Linked DNA regions of Homo sapiens: all the other regions are linked to region 3. Evidence: promoter capture Hi-C in human tissues and cell types (Jung and others, 2019). All regions are on one chromosome and are shown on one strand. The core of a region is centred on a gene start or on the middle of the fragment in contact, and the rest is flanking DNA. Distances in the headings are between cores, read along the strand shown. Region 1 overlaps CACNA2D1 (calcium voltage-gated channel auxiliary subunit alpha2delta 1). Region 2 overlaps CACNA2D1 (calcium voltage-gated channel auxiliary subunit alpha2delta 1). Region 3 holds the start of CACNA2D1 (calcium voltage-gated channel auxiliary subunit alpha2delta 1). Region 4 overlaps CACNA2D1 (calcium voltage-gated channel auxiliary subunit alpha2delta 1).

Region 1 (2,856 bases), core at 287-2,786, 310 kb before region 3:
AGACTGGGAAGTAGTCTTTCTTCCCCAAGTGTTTGTCCTTGGTGCTGTCATATTTGTAACTACAGAAGTGCTAATGATATAAAACATTTGGTCCTGCCACTGGTCAACAATAGGGCAAGCGTTTTCTTCAAGGTATGTATTTCATTGCCAATCCTCTAGATTATAGAGACCTACACAAGTCTGGACTAAGGTTGGGATAGTAGGGAAAGGATCTCTCTAAAAATTAAAGTATGGGGAAGTAATTCTAGAATATAACTATGACGTGTTCTTAAACTATACTTCAGAACATTCCTTTTACAGTTGTGTGAAATGAAGCTTTAATATGAACTTAGATTTATTGGGAAAGAAAGTTTGAGTGATTACAATGTGTACTCGATATTGTAAGAGTTACATCAGCTGCTATAAGTGCATAAGAGCTGCTCTCTGGGAACTTATACTCTTGAGGGACCCTAAGATAATAATTCACAAAGATTGGCTGTGCCTTCAAGAAGGAGAAACTTTCATTTCACTGCCAAACATTATATGTTCCGCTTAGGGAAGTTACTGGTAAAGTTTCTGCACGGTATTAAACATCAAAAAAAGAGTCAGTAATAAGTGACAAAGATCTTGACAATGGAAAAAGATATATGAATATAATGTTTATAAATTTATATAATAATGTATCATAATTAAATGCATTTAAAATTTATAATCATAAAATGAGATAATTTCAATAGCTCTTAAGAACATATTTGAGACCAATGTCTAAACTTAGATGATTGTATTAGAGCAGTGAAAGGAAATGATTGATATGAGTACTAGGAAATCCTGGAAATGATCACTAATCTACTAGTCTTAGGAGTTGGAAAACAAATCATCTCCAGCAGAACTGGTGAAAAAGTTAAAATAACCAGAGCCTCAGGATTTATAATCTTTTAGTTATACCCAGGAGGTATAATATTTAAAATAGAAACTTTATTTAGTGCTTGTTTTTTTTGTTGTTGTTTTTGTCTTTTTTTTTTTTTTTTTTTTTTTGAGACAGAGTCTCGCTCTGTTGCCCAGGCTGGAGTGCAGTGGCACAATCTCGGCTCACTGCAAGCTCCACCTCCCGGGTTCACGCTACTCTCCTGCCTCAGCCTCCCAAGTAGCTGAGACTACAGGCGCCCGCCATCATGCCTGGCTAAATTTTAAAAAAATATTTTTTAGTAGAGACAGGGTTTCACTGTGTTAGCCAGGATGGTCTCGATCTCTTGACCTCGTGATCTGCCTGCCTCAGCCTCCCAAAGTGCTGGGATTACAGGCATGAGCCACCGCGCCGGCCAGCTCTTATAAACTAAATTTGTCCTAAGGTTACATTTGTATTTTGAATTTCTTTACAGTAAACTGCAGCCTAACTTAGTATGTTAACAAACTGCAACCTACTTTAAAAGTATATTCTTGTAACTAATAACTGAGTCTCAGCTAATCATAGCAGCTGAGTTTCAGCCAATCACAGGCTGCCCACTGATCAGATTATGTCCACAGAAGGCAAATGCTACATATGCCCAAGTAAGGTAAATGCCCAGCTATCACCATGCCCAAGTAAGGTAAATGTCCAGCTATAACCAATCAAGCTGTTTCTACACATCACTTCCTTTGTCTGTCTATAAATACTGCCTGGCCATGTTGCTGGGTGGGGCTCTGTCCTAATTTTGAGTACTGCCTGATTCATGAATCATTCTTTATACAAATAAACTCGGGTAAATTTAATTTATCCATAATTTCTTTCAACAGCCCTCGGATATTAATCCCCATTGAAACATACTGAGGACTAAATTTATTAATAATGTTATCCCAGCAGTTAGTATGCCAATTAGCCCCACTGTTTTATTAGTTGATGTAGACGTATGAGATTGTAAAGTTACATTTTATAATCTCAAATGACAAATTTTTAATGAAGAATATGACATTGTAGAATTTGAACAATAAAAATACATAGCTAAACTAGCATGTATAAAAGTGAGAGCAAAGAACAGTGATAGTAGCCAAATTCAAACAAAAACAATGTGATGATATGATTTGTGAACACCTGATATATAAAATACCAGCCAACGCATATATAAAGTTGTAAACAAAAGATCCAATTAAATCCACCCTGTACTGCAAAACTTTTGGTGAGGGTGAGTAAATTTCATCATCCATAGGAGTCTAACTTCATGAGATAAGTAACAATCTTTTTTTAAAAAAAATGTAAATACTGAAACTTGTTAACTAGAATATCAAAGTACAACATGTATTTACAGTTCTTGACTTTCACTGTAATATAGTAAATATTTCTATTGCAGAAAACAATTTGATCATTAGTTATCAAAATGCATTAGGAGATATTAGAAAAAACTCAGTACAGCACCCAATTTTATATTCATTTTACTATAGAAAAATTATCTCCCCCAAAGGGTTTGATTATATTTAAAAGATAATAGTCACTCAGATGAATGAGTAGAGTGTTTGCACTAACTTTAATATGTCAAGAAGAACAAATTGAAGATATGTGCAGAAACTGCTAATTAATGATCTCTCAATTACTATCCCTTCTCTCTTTAGTAATGTAACTCTACATGTTAGTTGGGTATGTACACATGGGTCAAGGGTTGGGAGGAAAAGTACTCCATATCCTCTTGCAACAAGGCAAGGCTGGTCACTAAGTTGTGGACAATGGGCACACATAGAAGTGATGTATGCAAACTCTGAGACATGCCCCTAAAGGCAAAGGGCATGTCTCCCATTGTCACTTGCCTCTCTCCTCTAATCTAGAACGCAAAAAGAATCATGGATATTGGAACACCGATCTTGGAGCACAACATGGAAGAGCTACACTGAGGAAAGCAGAGAATGGGG
Region 2 (2,700 bases), core at 29-2,528, 290 kb before region 3:
ATCCCCAGGAGAAACATCCAAGACGCCCCAGTAAAGGCCTGACACTGCAGATACAGATAATATTAATATGTATACAAACTTATAAGGTTTAATTTATATATTAGGCACAGTAAGAGATTAACAACAATAATCAAATAGAATAATTAACTTTATGCTGGCATCACTATTCTGTGAAAGTGGTAACAGCTAAAACAAATATATCACTGTTCAGCTCGGATAGTGCATTATGTTCCTATAAGGCAATAGTCTTAAAAGCAAGGCTTGTTAAAGTAGAAAGGAGATTTGTAAGTTTCAAAAACAGATGATTTTACATATAAGACAAAACTAAGAAGTCTAAATGATGAGGCATAGTTAGAAAAAAAAAAAAAAGTCAAGGGATGTTCCTCCCTATTAGAAAAAGGAATATTGAGAATTTCCTAAATTGAAAGAGCAAAAGAAAAGCTGAAGGAGAGAGCTAAAAGTGACATGTATATGGACTGGCTCCAGTTATAGGTAGGAAACAGTGGGAGAGCAAAGGAGGTGTGTTTGGGAGAAATTTGCCACATTTTCTACTAGGAGTCTGGAATAAAGACTTTTCATTATTAAGTAAAATAAAGGTGCATCCAGGAAGCTTTCTTTGCCAGAGAAAACTCCCCAGCTTCCCTGCTTCATGTCAAAATTGGACAACCTTGTTTTTTGTTTTTTTGGAGATGGAGTTTTGCTATTGTCGACCAGCTGGAGTGCAGTGGCACAATCTCGGCTCAGTGCAACCTCCGCCTCCCAGGTTCAAGTGATTCTCCTGCCTCAGCCTCCCGAGTAGCTGGGATTGCAGGTGCCTGCTACCATGCCCAGCGAATTTTTTATTTTTAAAAGAGGCAGGGTTTCACCATGTTGGCCAGGCTGGTCTCAAACTCCTGACCTCAGGGGATCCACTCACCTCAGCCTCCCAAAATGTTGGGATTACAGGCGTGAGCCACTACACCCGGCTGGACACCCTTCTTAATGCCTCTCATAGAATCTTCTTGTATTTCCCCACTCTATAAATCAGAGAGAAGAGTCACTACACATCACTGGTTTGTTGTATTGATGAAATGGGCAAGTATCTGGGTCAAGGATCGGCTGCATTCCCTGCCTCAGTCTGTGTACTCAGCACAGCATAGTGTGATCACCTGCCTGAGCCCTGTGAGAGACTACACCTTAGCCATGTTTGAGCTCAATGCCTGGCCCATCACAGCTTAGATGTCATTAACTACTAAACAAGCCAGCCTCCCTCATAAGGTTGTTGAATCATCTGATGAATTATCTTAATATTCCACAGACAAGATGTTCACTGACTGGTTTTTAACACTGTCCTAGGTTTGGTTACCTAGAAATAGACACTGAGACTAGGATTTGAGCATCATTTATTTGGGAGGTGATCCCAGGAGACACCAATAGGAGAGTAGAGAAGTGAGACACCAAGGCACACAAGCTGTGGTCAAGAGCAGGTAGACAACTGGGGCTGTTTCCCTAGGAACCCTGGGGAGGCTATATAGAATTTCACTCAAAACGGTCACATCCAAAGAATGAGGAGGCTCAGGTAGTATCCACCCATACCAACTGTCACTCGGAGTGTTCACTCCTGCTCATTCTGGCCACCTGAGAAAGCCCTCAAGGCCAAGATGTGCAGATGCTTAGAGGAGGAAGCTATAAGAGTATGTGCTTGGCCGGGTGCTCACACCTGTAATCCCAGCACTTTGGGAGGCCAAGGCAGGCGGATCACAAGGTCAGGAGATCGAGACCACCCTGGCTAATACGGTAAAACCCTGTCTCTACTAAAAATACAAAAAAAAAACAAACAAACAACAAAAAAAAAAACATTAGCTGGGTGTGGTGGTAGGCGCCTGTAGTCCCAGCTACTCAGGAAGCTGAGGCAGGAGAATGGCGTGAACCCGGGAGGCGGAGCTTGCAGTCAGCCGAGATCGCGCCACTGCACTCCAGCCTGGGCTACAGAGCAAGAGTATGTGCGTGTCTCTGTGTGTGTACATGTGCGTGTGTGTGTGTGCATGTGTGTGTGCATGCACTGAGGAGATGTGGGCAGGGAACCAACAGCATCTACTATAGGCATGCAGTGAGTGTTTTAAAATGCTTACTGAGCACATGGCTAAATGCTTAAACGGCTTTAAGCATTGACTAGTTAGTAATGTGGCTTCCCGAGGCTTTGGTTCCTCCCCTGTGACATAAACATTCAGTTGACAAATACGGTCTCTAGAATCCTTCCACCTTTAAGGTTTGGTGTTTCCACTAACTGCTTTGCTTTAGATCAAATTAAAAAAAAAAAACAAAAACAACAACAAAAAAAAACACCCTAGTAGCTGGGTTCATCTACTTTTTTTTTCCCCCCAGTAAGCCATTATTTTGCTTCTCATGTGAGCACCCAACAGAACTTAAAGAGCCATCTCTCTTATTCTGAAAACAAAGCAAAGCTTTCCCTTAAAAAAAAAAAAAAAAATTGAAATCTCTAGTACATATTTTTGTAGAAGCATGTAAAACTGTAAAAAAGAAAAACCTTTGCATCATTTTTTTTCTATCTTGAAAGGTCAAGTTAAGGTGTATTCATTTATTCCTGAAAAGTAATGACTATGTTCCAAGGATAGATGTTTGCAATAGAAACATCCACAAACTAACCTAAATCAACCCCTTTGCACCTACCAAATACAAGCTGGCAATTTCCCCATTATG
Region 3 (2,768 bases), core at 13-2,512:
GGAGAGAATTATTATTTTTCATTCCCTTCCTGTGGTGTGACTATAGCTACCTATAAGCCCTCTATTTCCAGAACAGCAGCGAGGTTTTTAAAAGTTATTTTAGAAATGGTAAAAATAAAAGAAAATTTGTAGGAGACTGGAAATAGTCCCTCCTTCAAAGAATAGGCTCTATTCATTTGAAGAACAGGGACCGCGTGTCTGCCGACACTTAGATGTTTCAAATAATGGGTTGGGGAGGTTGGATCGCGTGGTCCCAGTACCTGCGAGCCCCCTGCGTGGACAGCACGCTCGGCCGCGGGGAGCCAGCACGCGTCTAATCGGAAGGCTGTCAAGTGCATCCAGTAACGTGGGATAAAACGAGTTTGGGCACTACAGCAATTAAAGAGCATCTCCGAGGCCAAGTGCGGGGGAAGTCCACGCTACCTCGGCAAGCCTGAAATTACCTGTTTGTAAATTACCCAACCAAAACATAACTTTTTATTGAACTGGGTTGAATCAGAGCGGGTGAGCTGGCTGGAAACTTTTTTCCCCAGTACGGCTGCACTCTGAAGTCTAGAGAATCCCGTTAGAGACGGGCTGAGACGCCGCGAGTCGTCGGCGGGCGCTTCCCGGGACAGTCGGCCCCCAGTGCCCGGCCCCGTGGAGGCGCCCGAGACGCCGGTTCGGGACGCATTCCAGCGGCGAGCGGCGCGCACCGCCTGCCCGGCGTCTCCGCATCCGAGCCTGGCTCCCCGGCCGCTCGCTCCCCACCCCCACGGGCGGAAAAGCCCCGCGACTCGGGAACCGACCCCCACCCCCAACTCCCGCGGCGCCCCTCGGCCGGCGCTCCCTGCCCGGCCCGCCGACTTACGTGACGGCCGAAGGGAACGGCTCCTCCGACGAGGGGCCGATGAGCAAAGATTGGAAAAGTGTCAGAGTCAAGGCCAGCAGGCAGCCAGCAGCCATCTTCGCGATCGAAGATCAATGCCCCCTCCCTGCCCAAGCGGGGGAAGGAGCGGCGCTGGAAACCGCGGGCGGAGGAAGAGCAGCACACGCCGCCGGGACCGCGGGCGTCTGGAGGGCTGGCTGCGCCCGGGGCCCGAGGCGCGGAGCCGCGCGGGGGACGGCAAGGGCGGGAGCGGACGCCGAGGAAGGGGCGGTGGCGGGCGGACCCACTAGCGTGCGTCGGCTGCTCCGCGCCGCGGCCGCCTTGCCTCCGCCGCCATCAAGGGCGACTTTGGAAACAGACCTCGGCGAGCCCGCCGGCGCTCGCGCGCTCTCGCTCTCCCTCTCGGTTTCCTCCCTGATTTATTCCCCCGATTGCCGAGGCGAAGGCGGAGGCGGGGGCGGGGGCGGAGGAGGGGTGACGGCGCTGGAGGGTGGGGGTGGCTGCAGGAATCGGGGAATGGCAGGCAGAGAGACTTGTGGAAGCGAGAGGCTCCGTCTGGCTTCTTAGGCAAGTCAGAGGGAGGCGGCTGGGGGTGGGCAGCGGGAGGGCTGGGCGTCAGAGCAGTCGGGCGGAGACGGGCCGGGAGCAGCCCTCCATACAAGGCAGCCAGGAACTCCCAAAGTCGGCGCCGGCTCGCTCCCGCCGCCCGGCGTGCGCAGGCGGAGCGGACCAGCCCCGCGGGGCTCCCGGGGGACGGCCAGCCGCCCAGCGGGCATCCACAGGCTGCAGAGGCTCCAACCCAGGACTTGGCTCGCGTCTTCGGGGGTTATTTTTGCACATGCAGGCAGCGTTCCCCCCCAGCCCTACTCCCAGGCGCAGAATCCAGTGCCTGCCTGGGAATCGTGAAGTGATTTGACAACAAATGTAGGAGGGGTTTGTATTGCATTTTAAAGCACCACTGTTGACTCTCTACCAGGTGGCACTATATGCCCGCGTGTGCCATAGGTTAGAGCCTCTGCCGGGGCTGGGTGCCCTTTGTGCCAGCGGTCCCACGCCCAGGTACTGCTCGGCTCACCTGGCGAGGACAGAGCCTCAGGGACCGGGCTGTGGACGGACAGAGAAGTACTGACGCTGTAAAATCTTCCCAGCCCTGTGGTTCCATTGGACAGAGGGGTGGAGGGACGAATTCTGCATCTAGGGAGGACAGTAGTAAGAGAAGCGCTTTGCAGCATCCCAGTTGGGACTACCTCCAAAAGGGTCCTAACGCCCTGCTCTGGCCACTGGCCTGCCCTGCCTGACAAGGTTACCGCAGGGTGAGCTCACTTTTGTCAATGCGAAGGCATGAAAAGGGTAAGCAGCAGGAACAGGTGGCACTCTGAGAAATGCGCCTGAAATGTAGAGGAGGAATTAAGGGAGGGGGAGAGAGCTAGGGAGTAGCAATGCCGGACTGGTTTTATCTCCAGACTCAGAGGAAGCAGTGGCGGGCTTTCTCCTTGAAAAGACAGGGTCTGCGACTAGGCCTCTCCCGCCCAACACAGGCCTCCTACAAGAGGGCCCTGGTGGGCCAAAGATAGAAATATATTCTTGCACACCTTAAATTCTTAAGCTCCCTCTAGTAGTGTATGAGAATACTTTTGACATGACGTGCAGAGAATACAATTTGTGATGACTATCCTGCATATGCAAAAATTCTGTAAGTATCGGGGTGGCTGTCAGATTTTTAATTAGCCCGTTCTTATTTTTAGGAGATGCTTCTGAAAGAAAAAGACCCTTATTAATTCGAAATGAATTTTCCAGCTCTCTGAAGGCAATCTCCCAAAACAAAGACTAATAATAATACTACTACTATTAATTACTGGCCAAATTTTAAGAGCGTGTGTGATTTTATGATGCTTAGCCT
Region 4 (2,773 bases), core at 194-2,693, 420 kb before region 3:
GTCATCTGCAAAAGGAGACTATTTATTTCTGCTACTAATTTCTAGTTTCACTCCACTGTGGTCAGTAAGGAGACTGGGTATGATTTCAATCTGAATTTGTTAAGAATTTGTTGTGACCTAACGTATGATCTATCCTGAAGAATGTTCCATATGCACTTGAGAAAAATGTGTATTATTTCTATTGGGTCAAATGTTCTCTATCTGTTTAAGTCTATTTGGTTATAGTGTTGTTCAAGTCCTCTGTTTCCAGATTGATCATCTGTCTGGCTGTTCTATCCATCACTGAAAGTGAGGTATTCAAGCTTTCTAGTATTATTGTATTGCTGCCTATTTGCCCCTTCAGTGCTGTCCATGTTTGCTTTATATATTTAGATGTTCTGATGTTGGGTGCATACATCTTTGTTATATATTATTGCTGGATTGATGCTTTTATTATATAACATCCTTCTTTGTCTCGTGTCAGTTTTTTTTTTTTTTTTACTTAAAGCCTGTTTTGTCTGATATAAATGTAGCTATCCATACTTTCTTTTGGTTATCATTTGCATGGAATAACTTTTTTCATCCCTTCACTTTTAGCCTATGTGTGTCCTTAAATCTAAAGTGAACTTCTGATAGGCAGCATATAGTGTGGTTTTGTTTTTTATCCATTCAGCCACTCTGTGTCTTTTGACTGGGGAGTTTAATTCATTTACATTTAAAATTATTATTGATAAGACAAAATTTATTAATGTCATTTTGTTATTTTCTGTCTTATTTTTCTTTTGTATTTTCTTTCTTCCTTTATGTTTGTCATTTTGATATTTTAAAGTTACATGTGAACTTATTTAAAAAAAGTTTTTTTAAAAAGTTGCATTCAAACATAGAATTTTTAAGAGTACTGAGCATTTATATTTTACTAAATCTATCGAATTTCATTTTTACACATTGGCCATTTGAAAGATAGTATTTCTGTGGAAAGTGAAATGCTGAGTTGATAAACGTATTATGTAACATTAATTTTGTGGCTCTGGAATTAGTACTGCATGCACAACTTTAGATAACAATAAACAATTATCTTTGTTATTAATATCTGTGGGCTGCAGATCGCTCACACAGGGTGGGTGTGTGTACAGCAGGCAATAAAGTTAGAACATGTTCCTCAATTCATCCACACACATTTGAAGCCATATTTGAAGATGGTGAAAAATATATAATGTACATATGTACACTATTTTATGTATATAAGCACTCTACACATACACATATGTCCTGGGCATAAACAATTACTACACAAATGCTGTTGTTTTAATAAAATACAGGTATACTCAAAAGTATAACTGAATTAAAGGTGGTTGTCTGCTATCATTTATACTCATTATTAGTGGACACAGAACATGCAAATACTTGTTTTCATTTATTTGTGGGATCTAAAGATCAAAGTAATTGAACTTCAGGAGATAGAGAAGAGAATAGTGGTTATCAGAGGCTGAGAAGGGTATGCTGGGGGTTTGTAGGGAGGTGGAGATGATTAATGGGTACAAAAAAATAGAATGAAAAAGACCTAGTTCTTGACAGCACAAGAGGGATATAGTAAATAATAATGGTACATTTAAAAATAATGAAAATGTATAATTGGGTTCTTTGTAATGCAAAGGATAAATGCTTAAGGGGATGGGTACTCAATTTTCCATGATGTAATGTGATTGCATGCCTGTACCTAAATATCTCAAATTCCAAGATGAACGTTTTATTCATTTAACATGGCCTTCTCACATTAGAAAATGTGGGATGTCATTTAACTTCACAGTGCATATGAAATGTGGGACAGCAATGTTTCCAGAAATTAATACCTACTTGTCAAATTCAGAAACGTGTTCCATCTCTCTCTCAATCCCTCCTCTTTTCAAGATCTCTATCAATTAGCCTTTCTCAGTTTTGTATCTATAAGCTTTCCTTGTCTGAGTATCCTTTCATTCATCTTTAGCCTATAATAATGTATAAGGTCTTCTATTGTAAAATAATATGCATATAATCATATGTGTGTACAGGTATATCTCATTTTATCATGGTTCTTTGTTGCATTTTTTACAGATTGGAGGTTTGTGGCAACCCTGTATCAAGTAAGTCCACTGTTGCCATTTTTCCAACAGCACACGCTAACTTCATGTCTCTGTCACAGTTTAGTAATTCTTAGAATAGTTTAATCTTTTTCATTATTATTACATCTGTTATAGTGATCATTATATCTGATACAGTGAATATAGTGATATCATACTGTTATATTCAGTGGTCCCTGAAGCTGGCAGAGGTTGGCTCATGAGGTGTAAGGAAAAAAGGCATCTCTATAACATAAAAGTGCAAGGTGAAGCAGCAAGTGCTGATGTAGAAGCTGCAGCAAGTTATCCAGAAGATGTAGCTAAGATCACTGGTGAAGGCCACTATAATAAACAACAGATTTTCAATGTAGAGAAAACAGCCTTGTATTTGAAGACAATTTTATCTAGGACTTTCATAGCTAAAAAGGAGAAGTTATTGCCTGCTTCAAAGCTTCAAAGGACAGGCTGACTTTCTTCTTAGTAGCTAATGCACTTGGTGACTTTAAGTGGAAGCCAGTGCTCTTTTACCATTCCAAAAATCTCAGGGTCCTTAAGAATTATGCTAAATCTACTCTGCTTATGCTCTGCAAATGAACCAACAAAGCCTGGATGACAGCACATCTGTTTACAGCATGGTTTACTGAATATTTTGAGCCCACTATTGAAACATATGTTAAAAAAAAATTATTGCTCACTGA

The links. Contacts are between HindIII fragments. The study calls those that stand out against the background at their distance.
Region 1: a contact is called between a fragment that was not itself captured here and the fragment with the promoter of CACNA2D1 in region 3, in 2 of the 25 tissues and cell types used here (dorsolateral prefrontal cortex and hippocampus).
Region 2: a contact is called between a fragment that was not itself captured here and the fragment with the promoter of CACNA2D1 in region 3, in 2 of the 25 tissues and cell types used here (heart left ventricle and hippocampus).
Region 4: a contact is called between a fragment that was not itself captured here and the fragment with the promoter of CACNA2D1 in region 3, in 1 of the 25 tissues and cell types used here (hippocampus).

Annotation. Positions count from the first base shown.
Region 1 is chr7:82,129,801-82,132,656 of GRCh38, forward strand. The region is part of intron 5 of CACNA2D1 (calcium voltage-gated channel auxiliary subunit alpha2delta 1); the gene reads right to left. Among named protein-coding and RNA genes, the nearest start is that of CACNA2D1-AS1, 120 kb to the left of the region's middle. The HindIII fragment of the contact is 9,170 bases long and covers 1-2,856 here.
Region 2 is chr7:82,147,970-82,150,669 of GRCh38, forward strand. All of the region lies in intron 4 of CACNA2D1 (calcium voltage-gated channel auxiliary subunit alpha2delta 1), which reads right to left. Among named protein-coding and RNA genes, the nearest start is that of CACNA2D1-AS1, 140 kb to the left of the region's middle. The HindIII fragment of the contact is 3,987 bases long and covers 1-2,700 here.
Region 3 is chr7:82,442,515-82,445,282 of GRCh38, forward strand. It overlaps CACNA2D1 (calcium voltage-gated channel auxiliary subunit alpha2delta 1), which reads right to left and starts at 1,263. Exons shown (of 39, transcript NM_000722.4): 1 at 851-1,263. The coding sequence starts at 945. RefSeq lists an enhancer at 1-268. The HindIII fragment of the contact is 9,545 bases long and covers 1-2,768 here.
Region 4 is chr7:82,025,585-82,028,357 of GRCh38, forward strand. The region is part of intron 12 of CACNA2D1 (calcium voltage-gated channel auxiliary subunit alpha2delta 1); the gene reads right to left. It overlaps CACNA2D1-AS1 (CACNA2D1 antisense RNA 1), which reads left to right. Exons shown (of 4, transcript NR_110077.1): 4 at 2,071-2,773. Among named protein-coding and RNA genes, the nearest start is that of CACNA2D1-AS1, 18 kb to the left of the region's middle. The HindIII fragment of the contact is 4,274 bases long and covers 1-2,773 here.